Regions from separate parts of the Homo sapiens genome. Here region 2 is linked to region 1. Evidence: promoter capture Hi-C in human tissues and cell types (Jung and others, 2019). All regions are on one chromosome and are shown on one strand. Each heading gives the region's core, a stretch centred on a gene start or on the middle of the fragment in contact. The rest is flanking DNA. Distances are from core to core; before and after follow the strand shown. Region 1 holds the start of TET2 (tet methylcytosine dioxygenase 2). Region 2 overlaps GSTCD (glutathione S-transferase C-terminal domain containing).

Evidence for each region. Contacts are between HindIII fragments. The study calls those that stand out against the background at their distance.
Region 2: a contact is called between a fragment that was not itself captured here and the fragment with the promoter of TET2 in region 1, in 1 of the 25 tissues and cell types used here (spleen).

Annotation. Positions count from the first base shown.
Region 1 is chr4:105,144,549-105,149,465 of GRCh38, reverse strand. TET2 (tet methylcytosine dioxygenase 2) reads right to left here and starts at 2,590. Exons shown (of 11, transcript NM_001127208.3): 1 at 2,487-2,590. It overlaps LOC124900868, which reads left to right. Exons shown (of 3, transcript XM_047416559.1): 2 at 2,505-3,971. The coding sequence ends at 3,193. RefSeq lists silencers at 1,616-1,685, 2,649-3,328 and enhancers at 2,016-2,065, 2,409-2,578. The HindIII fragment of the contact is 6,833 bases long and covers 1-4,414 here.
Region 2 is chr4:105,720,784-105,725,490 of GRCh38, reverse strand. All of the region lies in intron 3 of GSTCD (glutathione S-transferase C-terminal domain containing), which reads right to left. Among named protein-coding and RNA genes, the nearest start is that of GSTCD, 14 kb to the right of the region's middle. The HindIII fragment of the contact is 8,290 bases long and covers 1-4,707 here.

The DNA.
Region 1 (4,917 bases), core at 1,341-3,840:
TTTTCCAACAAAGGATAAAGTGACTAACATACACATCTCTTCCTTATAATCACTGAAATACTTTATACAGTATTAATTAGCAGCTATTTTCAGTATAAAAGTAGGATGCACAAAATAACAAGAATCTAAATTTGATGACAGGAAAAAACAAGCCTTCATAGTTGTATTCAAAATTATTAACCAATGTAGTTATTCTTATTTATTGAGTGGAAAATGTTGTATCTATTATTAGTTGAGTAGCCTGAAGACAGTATATACCACAACATTTGAAAAGTTGTCCCCAAAAAGTAAATATTAGTTTGTTAGCAAAAGGAATTGTTTTTAATTCTGAATTGCTGGAATAATTAACCATAGTTTTCTCGATAGTTTACCATGAACAGCATTAATGGTAAAATCCTAATTTTTGTTTTAATTTTAGGGCAAATAAGAACTAACCAATGAACCGTTTCTATTCCACAGAGATGAGTAATGCTTCTCCCTTGTAATCATGTGAAAGAACCCCACGTATCAATGATTAAAGCAAACTACATTAAATTAACAAAGATCAAAATAGAAAGTTACAAAGTGAACTATCGAGGACAAATAGTTTTGGAAATTCGACTTATGGAGAAATATCTATTATTGTGTTTTTCCTTCTATCCATTTTTTAATCCTATAAATTGTCTTCTAAACTTCAGTTTGATTATCCAACACTTCATTAACCGTTCTCTGCTTATTAACATTTAAAAAAATCAATATTTATTGTGTTTAAATTTATATTCTATTCCAAACATTATTAAGCACACATACAAACATGTAAAAGAACATAACTCCCCTTAGTATTTCAACTTTCCATTAAAATGCAAATGTAATGATTTCATTAGCCAGGCAACAATACCCACAGTATCACACCAAACCAAACCAATGTCTTTTCTCTGTGAATCCCAACTTCCCTTAAGATACAATCTTATTCCTATGATGGATCATTTGTTGATGAATATCTTTGAATTTGGGTTTCCCATTATAATCCCTGACTGAAGGGGAAAAAGCACAATGTGTGATTTGAGATATTAAATTCATGAATGTATTCCACTCCCTAGACACGTAAATATATAAATATTTCACTAAATTTTATGCACTAAATTTTACCGCTGGAAAATAAGCCTTTTCTCAATTCTTAAACATTAGATGAAGAAGGGAGAACTCCCTCAATGTAATTAAAAGTATATCATGAGGGGAATAACCAGCAAATAACACTTATATTTCATTTTCGGCCTTTCCAGGAGTCTATCCAGGCCACACTTCATTATGTCATAGGTAGAAAACTCTCCATACAAACCCTATTAGCTTAATAAAACTAGACAAGCAGTCCCAGTGAAAAGATTCAGCAAGATGCGAGTGAGGTGTGTGTGTGTGTGTGTGTGTGTATGTGTATGAGAGAGAGAGAAGAAAGAGTAGAGAGGAGACACAGAGAGAAAGGCAGAGAGATGAAAGACCAAAGAGAGAAGCCAAAGAGAAATTTGGATGGGACTGTTATAAATCTGCTCTTCACTTCTTTGCTGGGATTGGGTTTCATTTCTTTAGGCGCCCCTGACCTTGCAGTCTTGCAACTCCAACGCTGCGCTCCCCACCCCCTCCCGCCCCCTCCCCGGGCCTGCGCCTGCCTTTGTGTCTGCCTGTCACTTACCAAGGAACCAAACGAAGCTGATTCGGGAGAAGCACAAAGCCGGGACACAGATTTGTCCATAAATTCTCTTACATACATTCCCCAGGCTGGAAGGCTCAGCCCAGCGCTGACTTATGTACCTTGAGAAAAGTGAGTTCTGGTCTTGTTTGGGGAACCAGAGAAACTATTCTTTCCTCTTTCACTCAGCGCCGCTAACAAAACGCGCGGACTTAAGGAAAAAAAAAACCCACTCAGTGTACTCCAATTCCACTCCCTGTGACATTCACTTCGTACAGCCCCCTAAAGGGGGATAAGAAGGTAGGAGGAGGCAGACACAAACCCAGACCCAGACCCTACAGCTGATAAAAGGGTCGAAAAACACCCTATCAGTGTTCTCTCTGAGGTTGTTCAGGATAAACGGGAGACTCGTTTCACTTACACGAAAGAAACAGGGGAAGAGGATTAAAGGGAAAAGTAGTGCCCCCAAAGCTGAACTATTTTAGAAAGGAAAGCAAATTTAAAAATCACTTTTCTGAGGATTAAAAAAGGCCGGGAAACCGGCTCGTCGGAGGCACAAAGGTAAGTTTTCTGGGAGATGAGGGGACGAGCATTAGGAGGAGAGAAGAGAACACAGAACTACAGGTTTAAAAGGGGTAGAGGGAATTAAAACTATATTTGTCAGCCATGTTGAAGAGGCTCCAGTAATTTGTGAAGCTTCCCTCTTCCCTCTTGGTATTTGTGGGTGACACTACAGGGTTTGCTCCCCAGTCCCTGGAAGCCCGAGAAAAAGCGAAGGGGAGAAGAAAGGGAGAGTTTCGCGGCATAAGAGAAGCGCTCTGACCTCGTTCTCGTCCCTCAGCCTTGCAGCAATCCAGCAGTTGCAGTCGGGTCTCCTTTCTAACAAATCCTAAAGGGCAGCCATCTTGCTTCCTTCTGCTTCTCTACGAAAGCAGCCTAGCCTCCGCATCAATATTCATAAGGCAGTTTGACGTCTGTTCTCATCACTCAGCGGGGCCGGCGTCTCGGGGCGGCCGCGCCGAGGGGGCGGACGTGACTTGCATGCGAGCGGGACCCGGGCGCGCGGCGCTCGCGAGGAGGCGGCGGCGGCCGCCCAAGCTCTCGCCGCTGCCACTGCCGCTACCGCCGGCTCTCCTCCTCCGCCCGGGCCTCCTCCTGCTCCGCCCCGGCCTCCTCCCGCTCCGCCCCGGCCTGCGCCGCCGCCCTGGGGCCCTCAGCCCCGGCTCCCAGGGAATTAGCCCCCCGCACCGGGCGTCCAGCACAAAGGCCGGCGGCACCTGGGGCCGTACAGCGGGGCGCGCAGTGGAGACCTGGGCTGCCCTCACGCCGTGCAGTGGCGCGGGGGGAGTGGTGCGCCCGGACCAGCGCGGAGTAGGGGCCAGGGCTGGCGAGCGCGGGGAAGGGTGCAGCCCTCGGGAACCCCGGGGACCTCGGCGGGTCTCCACCCCTGGGAGAAGAAGCAGAGCAAGCGCGAAGGTTGGGGGCGAGGTGGGAGGTTGGGATGGCACGGGTGCCTGGACAAAGACGTGACATCTAAGATTTCCCTTTGAAACTTTTTGCTGGTCTGCACTCCACCACCACTTCGAGGTCCCGCGCACACGCCCCCGCGCGCACCCACCTCCTCCGGAGTGTACCCGCACGTGCCCTCGCTCTGGCCCCCGCCTCCACCCACTGGCACCTCTCCCCGCACCACACCTCCGCTTGCGCCCACCTTACCCTCAGAGGCCCGCGTCTCTATCTCCCTTTAGATCCCGTTGCCCGCGCTCTCCTTTCCCTTTTCTGTCGCTTTAATCTCATTCAGCAGAAGCGCTCCCCTGTTTCACCGAGGGCATGCCCTTAGTGCTTTAGGGGCCTGTATTTTTAAAGACCCGACAAACTGGGAAATTGACCGAGTTCTGTTTCTCCCCGCCCCGGCCCACCTTCTGTTTACTTTAGCCACGTGGGCTGAGTAGAAGGGGGCGTCTCACAGATTGAAATAGGTTTCTCACTAGTGACCCCCTACTTCTCGCTAGGAGGAAATAAACCTGCACTTTCAAATGCTTAAGTTGCCTCTCGTAAGAGCCCTTACTTTGAAGTAGTTTCCCCCCGTACAATTAAGTAATGAAGAAACCGACCGATACAGAGCTAATTCCGAATGACGGATGCTTGATTTTCCCTGACATTCGGAGCTCTGTAACTATGCTCTTCCTTTGACCGGAGTTTTTCTCTATTGCCGAGTAGTGTTACTTCCCCCTTCTAATGCTCCTTTTTCTAATCATCAACTTTTTATTTGAAGATGAGATGAAGAACAAAGCCCATATGAGTCATAGTAAGTATCATATTACGTCAGATAGTCGTTTTTGAAATATTCCCTTCATCTTTTACATGTTCTTACATGACTGACGTTCAAATTTTAAGTGGGTATTTTGGTCACATCTTTTATGGGATCACTGCATGGTGATCACAGTACCCTTAAGTCAATACTAGTTATATTGTGTAACCACACTTTTTTTGGTCTGTAATTTTTTTTAAAAGCGAAGCCCTAATTTTACGAAATCGGAATATTTCCTCTTTGAAGAGTGTGAAAAAGGGAACTCCTTGCAAGTGTCGCATTGTTGCTAAGAAGAATGTTTAGTGGGTCCAATCAAACTTTGTTTATTCCATTTTGAAACAAAGTTGACTCAGATTTCAGATTTTGCACAAACTAAGGAAATAGTACATTTTCCCTTAAACATTTCAGGTGGGAATGACATTCCATGTTTTCTAGCTGTACACTAAAGCGTCACTTAGGTCTTGGAAATTGTTAATGCACTTTAAAATCTAAGCTGTTTGAAAGTTCTTTGTGATCTTTATTTCTTTCTTTCTTTTCTTTCCTTTTCTTTCTTTCTTGAGACAGCCTCTCTCTGTCACCCAGGCTGGAGTGCAGTGGCGCGATCTCGGCTCACTGCAACCTCGGCCTTCCGGGTTCAAGCGATTCTTCTGCCTCAGCCTCCGGAGTAGCTGGGACTACAGGCGTGCGCCACCACGCCCAGCTATTTTTTGTATTTTTAATAGAGACGGGGTTTCACCATATTGGCCAGGCTGGTCTGGAACTCCTGACCTCCCAGAGTGCTGGGATTACAGGCGTGAGCCACCGCGCCCGGCTTGTGATGTATTTTTCAAGTCCAGGAAATAAAGTTCTCTCAAGACCACAACATACATTTATACAGTGCACAGTATTGCAGAGTTGTTGAAACATGGGCTTTGGAGTTTTACAGAGCTGAGTGACTCTTAAC
Region 2 (4,707 bases), core at 1,274-3,773, 580 kb before region 1:
GGTGCGCATGTGGAACAACAGGAACTCTCATTTACTGCTGGTGGGAATGAAAAATAGTACAGCCACTTTGAAAGACAGTTTGGTAGTTCCTTACAAAGGTAAATATACTCTTACCATACAATCCAGTAATTGTGCTTCAAATGAGTTGAACATTTATGTCCACACAAAAACCTGAACACAGATAGATGTTAATAGCATCTTTATTCATAATTGCCAAAACTTGGAATTAACCAAGATGCCCTTCAGTAGATGAATGGATAAACTGTGGTACAGCTATACAATGGAAAACAACCATCAATAGAAAAAGAAGAATACAATAATTCCAAAAAGAATCAATATAAATAACAATGGCATTTGCAAATGTCTATAAACAGTACAACTGAAAATCATTTTGGAAAACTTTACATCTTATATTCAATTGTCTACATCTTTCATTGGTAGTATGTTTTTACCCCTCTCTAAGAACTCCTCTATAATCAACTGCATTCCAATCTGGAAACCCTTTCATCTATAATTCATGGCCATGAACACATTCCTCTGTTCCTGACCCTCTATATACTTGATAAGTTCTTAACACACTGCATATAGAGAGTTAATTGGACAACATTATATCAAAAACCTAAAATCCTTAATATATACTTATGCAAATTAGTTTAACTGTTTAATGGGGAAAGAATTAAAATAAGTATTAAATTCCTCAACACAAATAATGTAACACGTTTAAATTATCACAATTTAATATCTGTAGTCTGCAATCATTGATGTATTTTGAGGGGTCTCATAGAAATTTTGTAGCTCACTGCAGAAGTGTAAAAATGGAGAGCTTGTACTATTAATAATGATCTAAAGTTCCATTTTTTTGTGTTTGTGAAACTACCTTCTCTGTATGTGTGAACTATTAGGCATAATCTAAATGATATTCCTTACCAATAATGTAAGAAGCATCTTTCAGAACCATATTTTTAAAAATTACACAATGAGGTAAGGAGAACATTTTACTAAAGAAAATAGTAAAAAGATAAAAGAGAAAATTGTAAATATTTAAAACTAAAAAAGATAACTAGCACTATAGAATTTTTTTTTTATAAAGCAGCACTTAAAGTAAGACTTTTATTTTTTCAAATTAGAAAAATTTTAAATTGTTCTTCCTGATACAAACTCATATATTTTTGTTTTCTCTTGGTCAGATGCTTTCTCCCTAGCACTACCACCAAATTCTATTTTCTTGAAAATTTAGAGTGTTCTTGCTTCTTTGAGAGGCAACAAATGTTTCCGTAGAAACCATTATGATGTCTCAAACACATTATGACTTATGATTATGAACAGATTATGAACAGATTATGACCTTTAAATAAAAAGGTCAAGTCACAGGAAATCTCTACAGATATATTTCACAATAATATCAGAGCATGAGACAGAAAGGACAGAAAATAAAAAATTCATACATATATATTATACTGTATTTTAAGTGGACTTTAAGATTAAATGAGCACAAGTAATTGATTATAAGAACAAGGACTGTAACTCTCTTTGAATACTGAAGCACTTAAAACACTGCCTTGCAAATAATACCCTGTTGAGTGAATGAACAAATGATAAAGAATCCATTTGTTACCTTCAGAGAGTAATCCCCTCAGTCAGTATTTTTCAAGTTGCTATTTATCACTCATTTAGGGGTTGTGAAATCAACATAGTAGGTTTTTAAAAAATGAAATAGAAAATATCAGAGTACACATCCTATAAGTTATTTTGTAATTATTTATATATTTTTTTACATATTATTTAAAGATATACATTTATTTCTATAATTATCCAACTTGTAAAATGTATTACAGTTGTCCCTCAGTATCCATGGAGGATTGGTTCCAAGACCTGTATCAGAAACCCAAATCCACAGATACTCATACTCATGTCCTTGATATAAAATGGTATAGTATTTGCATATAACCTATACACATCCTCTCCTATACTTTAAATCCTAGATTACTTCTAATACCTAATACAATATAAACACTGTGCAAATAATTGTTATTCTGTATTGTTTAGGGGATCACGACAAGAAAAAAGTCAGTACATGTTCAGTACAGATGCAATTTTTTTTCCAAATATTTTAAATCTGCGGTTGGTTGAATACATGAATACAGAACCAATGGATATGGAAGGCCATCTGTATTTACTGAGTTAAAGTAAAAAAAAAGTTTGAAAAATACTCTCTAAGGTACCCTGAGAGCCAAAAAGTTTATTAATTCTCTCAAGAATTGTGAATTGCTTGGAAATAGATTAGGTGCTAAGGGAATGGATCTTTAGACATGATAATCACACAAGAAATTTTCTCTTTTCCTCATCTTTCCTGTACTCTTCGTTCTAGTGACTTATTTTTATTTGTTAGATGTACGTGGCATCTTTCCTTTCTTTTGAAATGAAGTTGCAATTAAATAACAATAATTCATGTTTACAAGAAATTGAGGAGGTTTACTCTGACAGGTCACTCCATTTATCAACATGCCAGGCCACTCTACTAATATCCAGATAGCTCAGAAGGTACTGAACCACATTCATTACACTCATGAAGATATATTTAAGGAAGTTGCTAATGAAAACTCTGTGAAATGAAAATTAAATTTCTTCATAAGGAATGATTACCAAATAGTTACCTGGCTCATAAGATCAAAACCATTATAAATATCACAGAGTTCTTTAAGGACAAGAAAAAAAAAAGATGATCTATTTTTAAAACAAAGGTTTAAAAAAAAAGCATAGCTATCAAAGCAAAAATAAAATTTTAGTAACTCTGTAGTTAATTGTCAATAAAGGGCAGAAAAATTTGTCAGAATAAAAAGAGAAGCAAGATGTTGCATCTATTCAAAATATCTCCTCCTTTGCATTCCTTTACAATCACTTACTATATAAAATATTTGTTCTTATTTTATATCATTTCCTTAGTCATACTTCCTTTTTTGAAAATATACTCACAGATGTTTAGGTGAGCAGTGTAAGCAGAGAAAAAACAGTAAACAACCTATCTAAATGAAAATATAATCCCAGCTCTCTGTTTTTTACTTATAAATTAGAACTAGTGAGTTAAAGCTAAAAGCTCTTGAGGACCTAATGAATAGGAATAGACACAGAAAATACAAATTTACCACTAAATAAGTGGCATCAACCATTTTTGCAATATGCCAGCAAAAAGTGAGGTTCCCAACTTTATGCCGATGGGAACACAGGAAGAGGTATTTAGTTTTGCTAAAAAATCAATTTCTAAAAGAGGAATGATTTTACCTAAGCTAATAAAGATGTCTGTGTGTGTGTGTGTATGTGTGTATTTAAACTCAATTCAAAGCATTAGAAGTTAAAATGTAGAAAATTAAATCATAAGTGGTCAAATTACAAGATTTTATAAAATGATAAAATGCAACTTTCTGTCTTATAGGCGTACAATAATGTTTTAAATATTTCTGTCAAAGTGTACTTGCTTACTAGTAGCAACTGAAAAATAATATACAATCTTCTAGTATTGGAACAGTAGGATTTTGCCCTAGTATAGCTATTCATTGCTATTTCTCCCATAATGTTGATACGCTATCTACTAGAAAATTCTAGCAAATAAATTGAATGGGGGGAAACATGAGTGTACATATTAATTTATTCCTTTTAAATCTATTTCTAAGACTTTTCAGAGGAGAGGGTATCGTCAGGCCCCTTTCCTTATGAGGTGCTGAGCCATCAGGGGTTAACTTTGTAAAGTAATAAAGTATTTTCTGAAAAGGAAGAGCTTGCAGCAGGTTTATATATAATACCTTAGCATTTCCATGTTTGTCTCTGACAAATTAAAAAAAAACAAAAAAAACACCTCATCGATTCTACTTGTTATTGTTTTCCATCTTTGGTTTTATTCTGTTTAGCAGAACTGGGTATTTTCCCTAGTTCTTCTAATTTTGACCCTTAGTAATTCAAACCTTGATTTAGCAAAATTGACTCTTACTTTTATGTCCTTGACTTTATTCCTGCGACTAAATATTCTGTCCCTAGATTCAGTTTTATGTTTCTGGTAACTTGACCTTGATTACGGATGTTGAACTTGATCCTGATTCTGATCATTTGGATGGCCACTCCATTCACCTCAATGTATGTTAATGCAAGCAAAAAGGCTTGCCAACATAACCACTATATGAATTAAAATGACTACTTTATTACCCAAGATGATTTAAAGAGAAAAATATAACAAATATCAAGGGTTTATCAAAGAAGGATGAATTCTGGAAAACATGAGGTGGGCGGATCACAAGGTCAGGAGTTCGAAAGCAGCCTGGCCAACATGGTGAAACCCCATCTCTACTTAAAAAATACAAAAATTAGCCAGGCATGGTGGCGTGCACCTATAATCCCAGCTACTTGGGAGGCTGAGGCAGGAGAATTGCTTCAACCCAGGAAGCGGAGGTTGCAGTGAGCTGCGATTACACCACTGCACACAGCCTAGGTGACAGAGCGAGACTCCATCTCAAAAAAAAAAGAAAAAAAAATCCAGTAAAAATACAAAGGAACGAAGGAAAATATTTTGAGAATTAGTTTATGTATTCAAATAATTTTAATAAATTTCTTCAATAAAGGAATGGATATGCCACTTTCATTCAATTCTGGTGAAACTGGAAACACAGTTATCCAAAGAAGTCAAGAAGACAGAAGACCAAGTACTTCATAATGTATCAA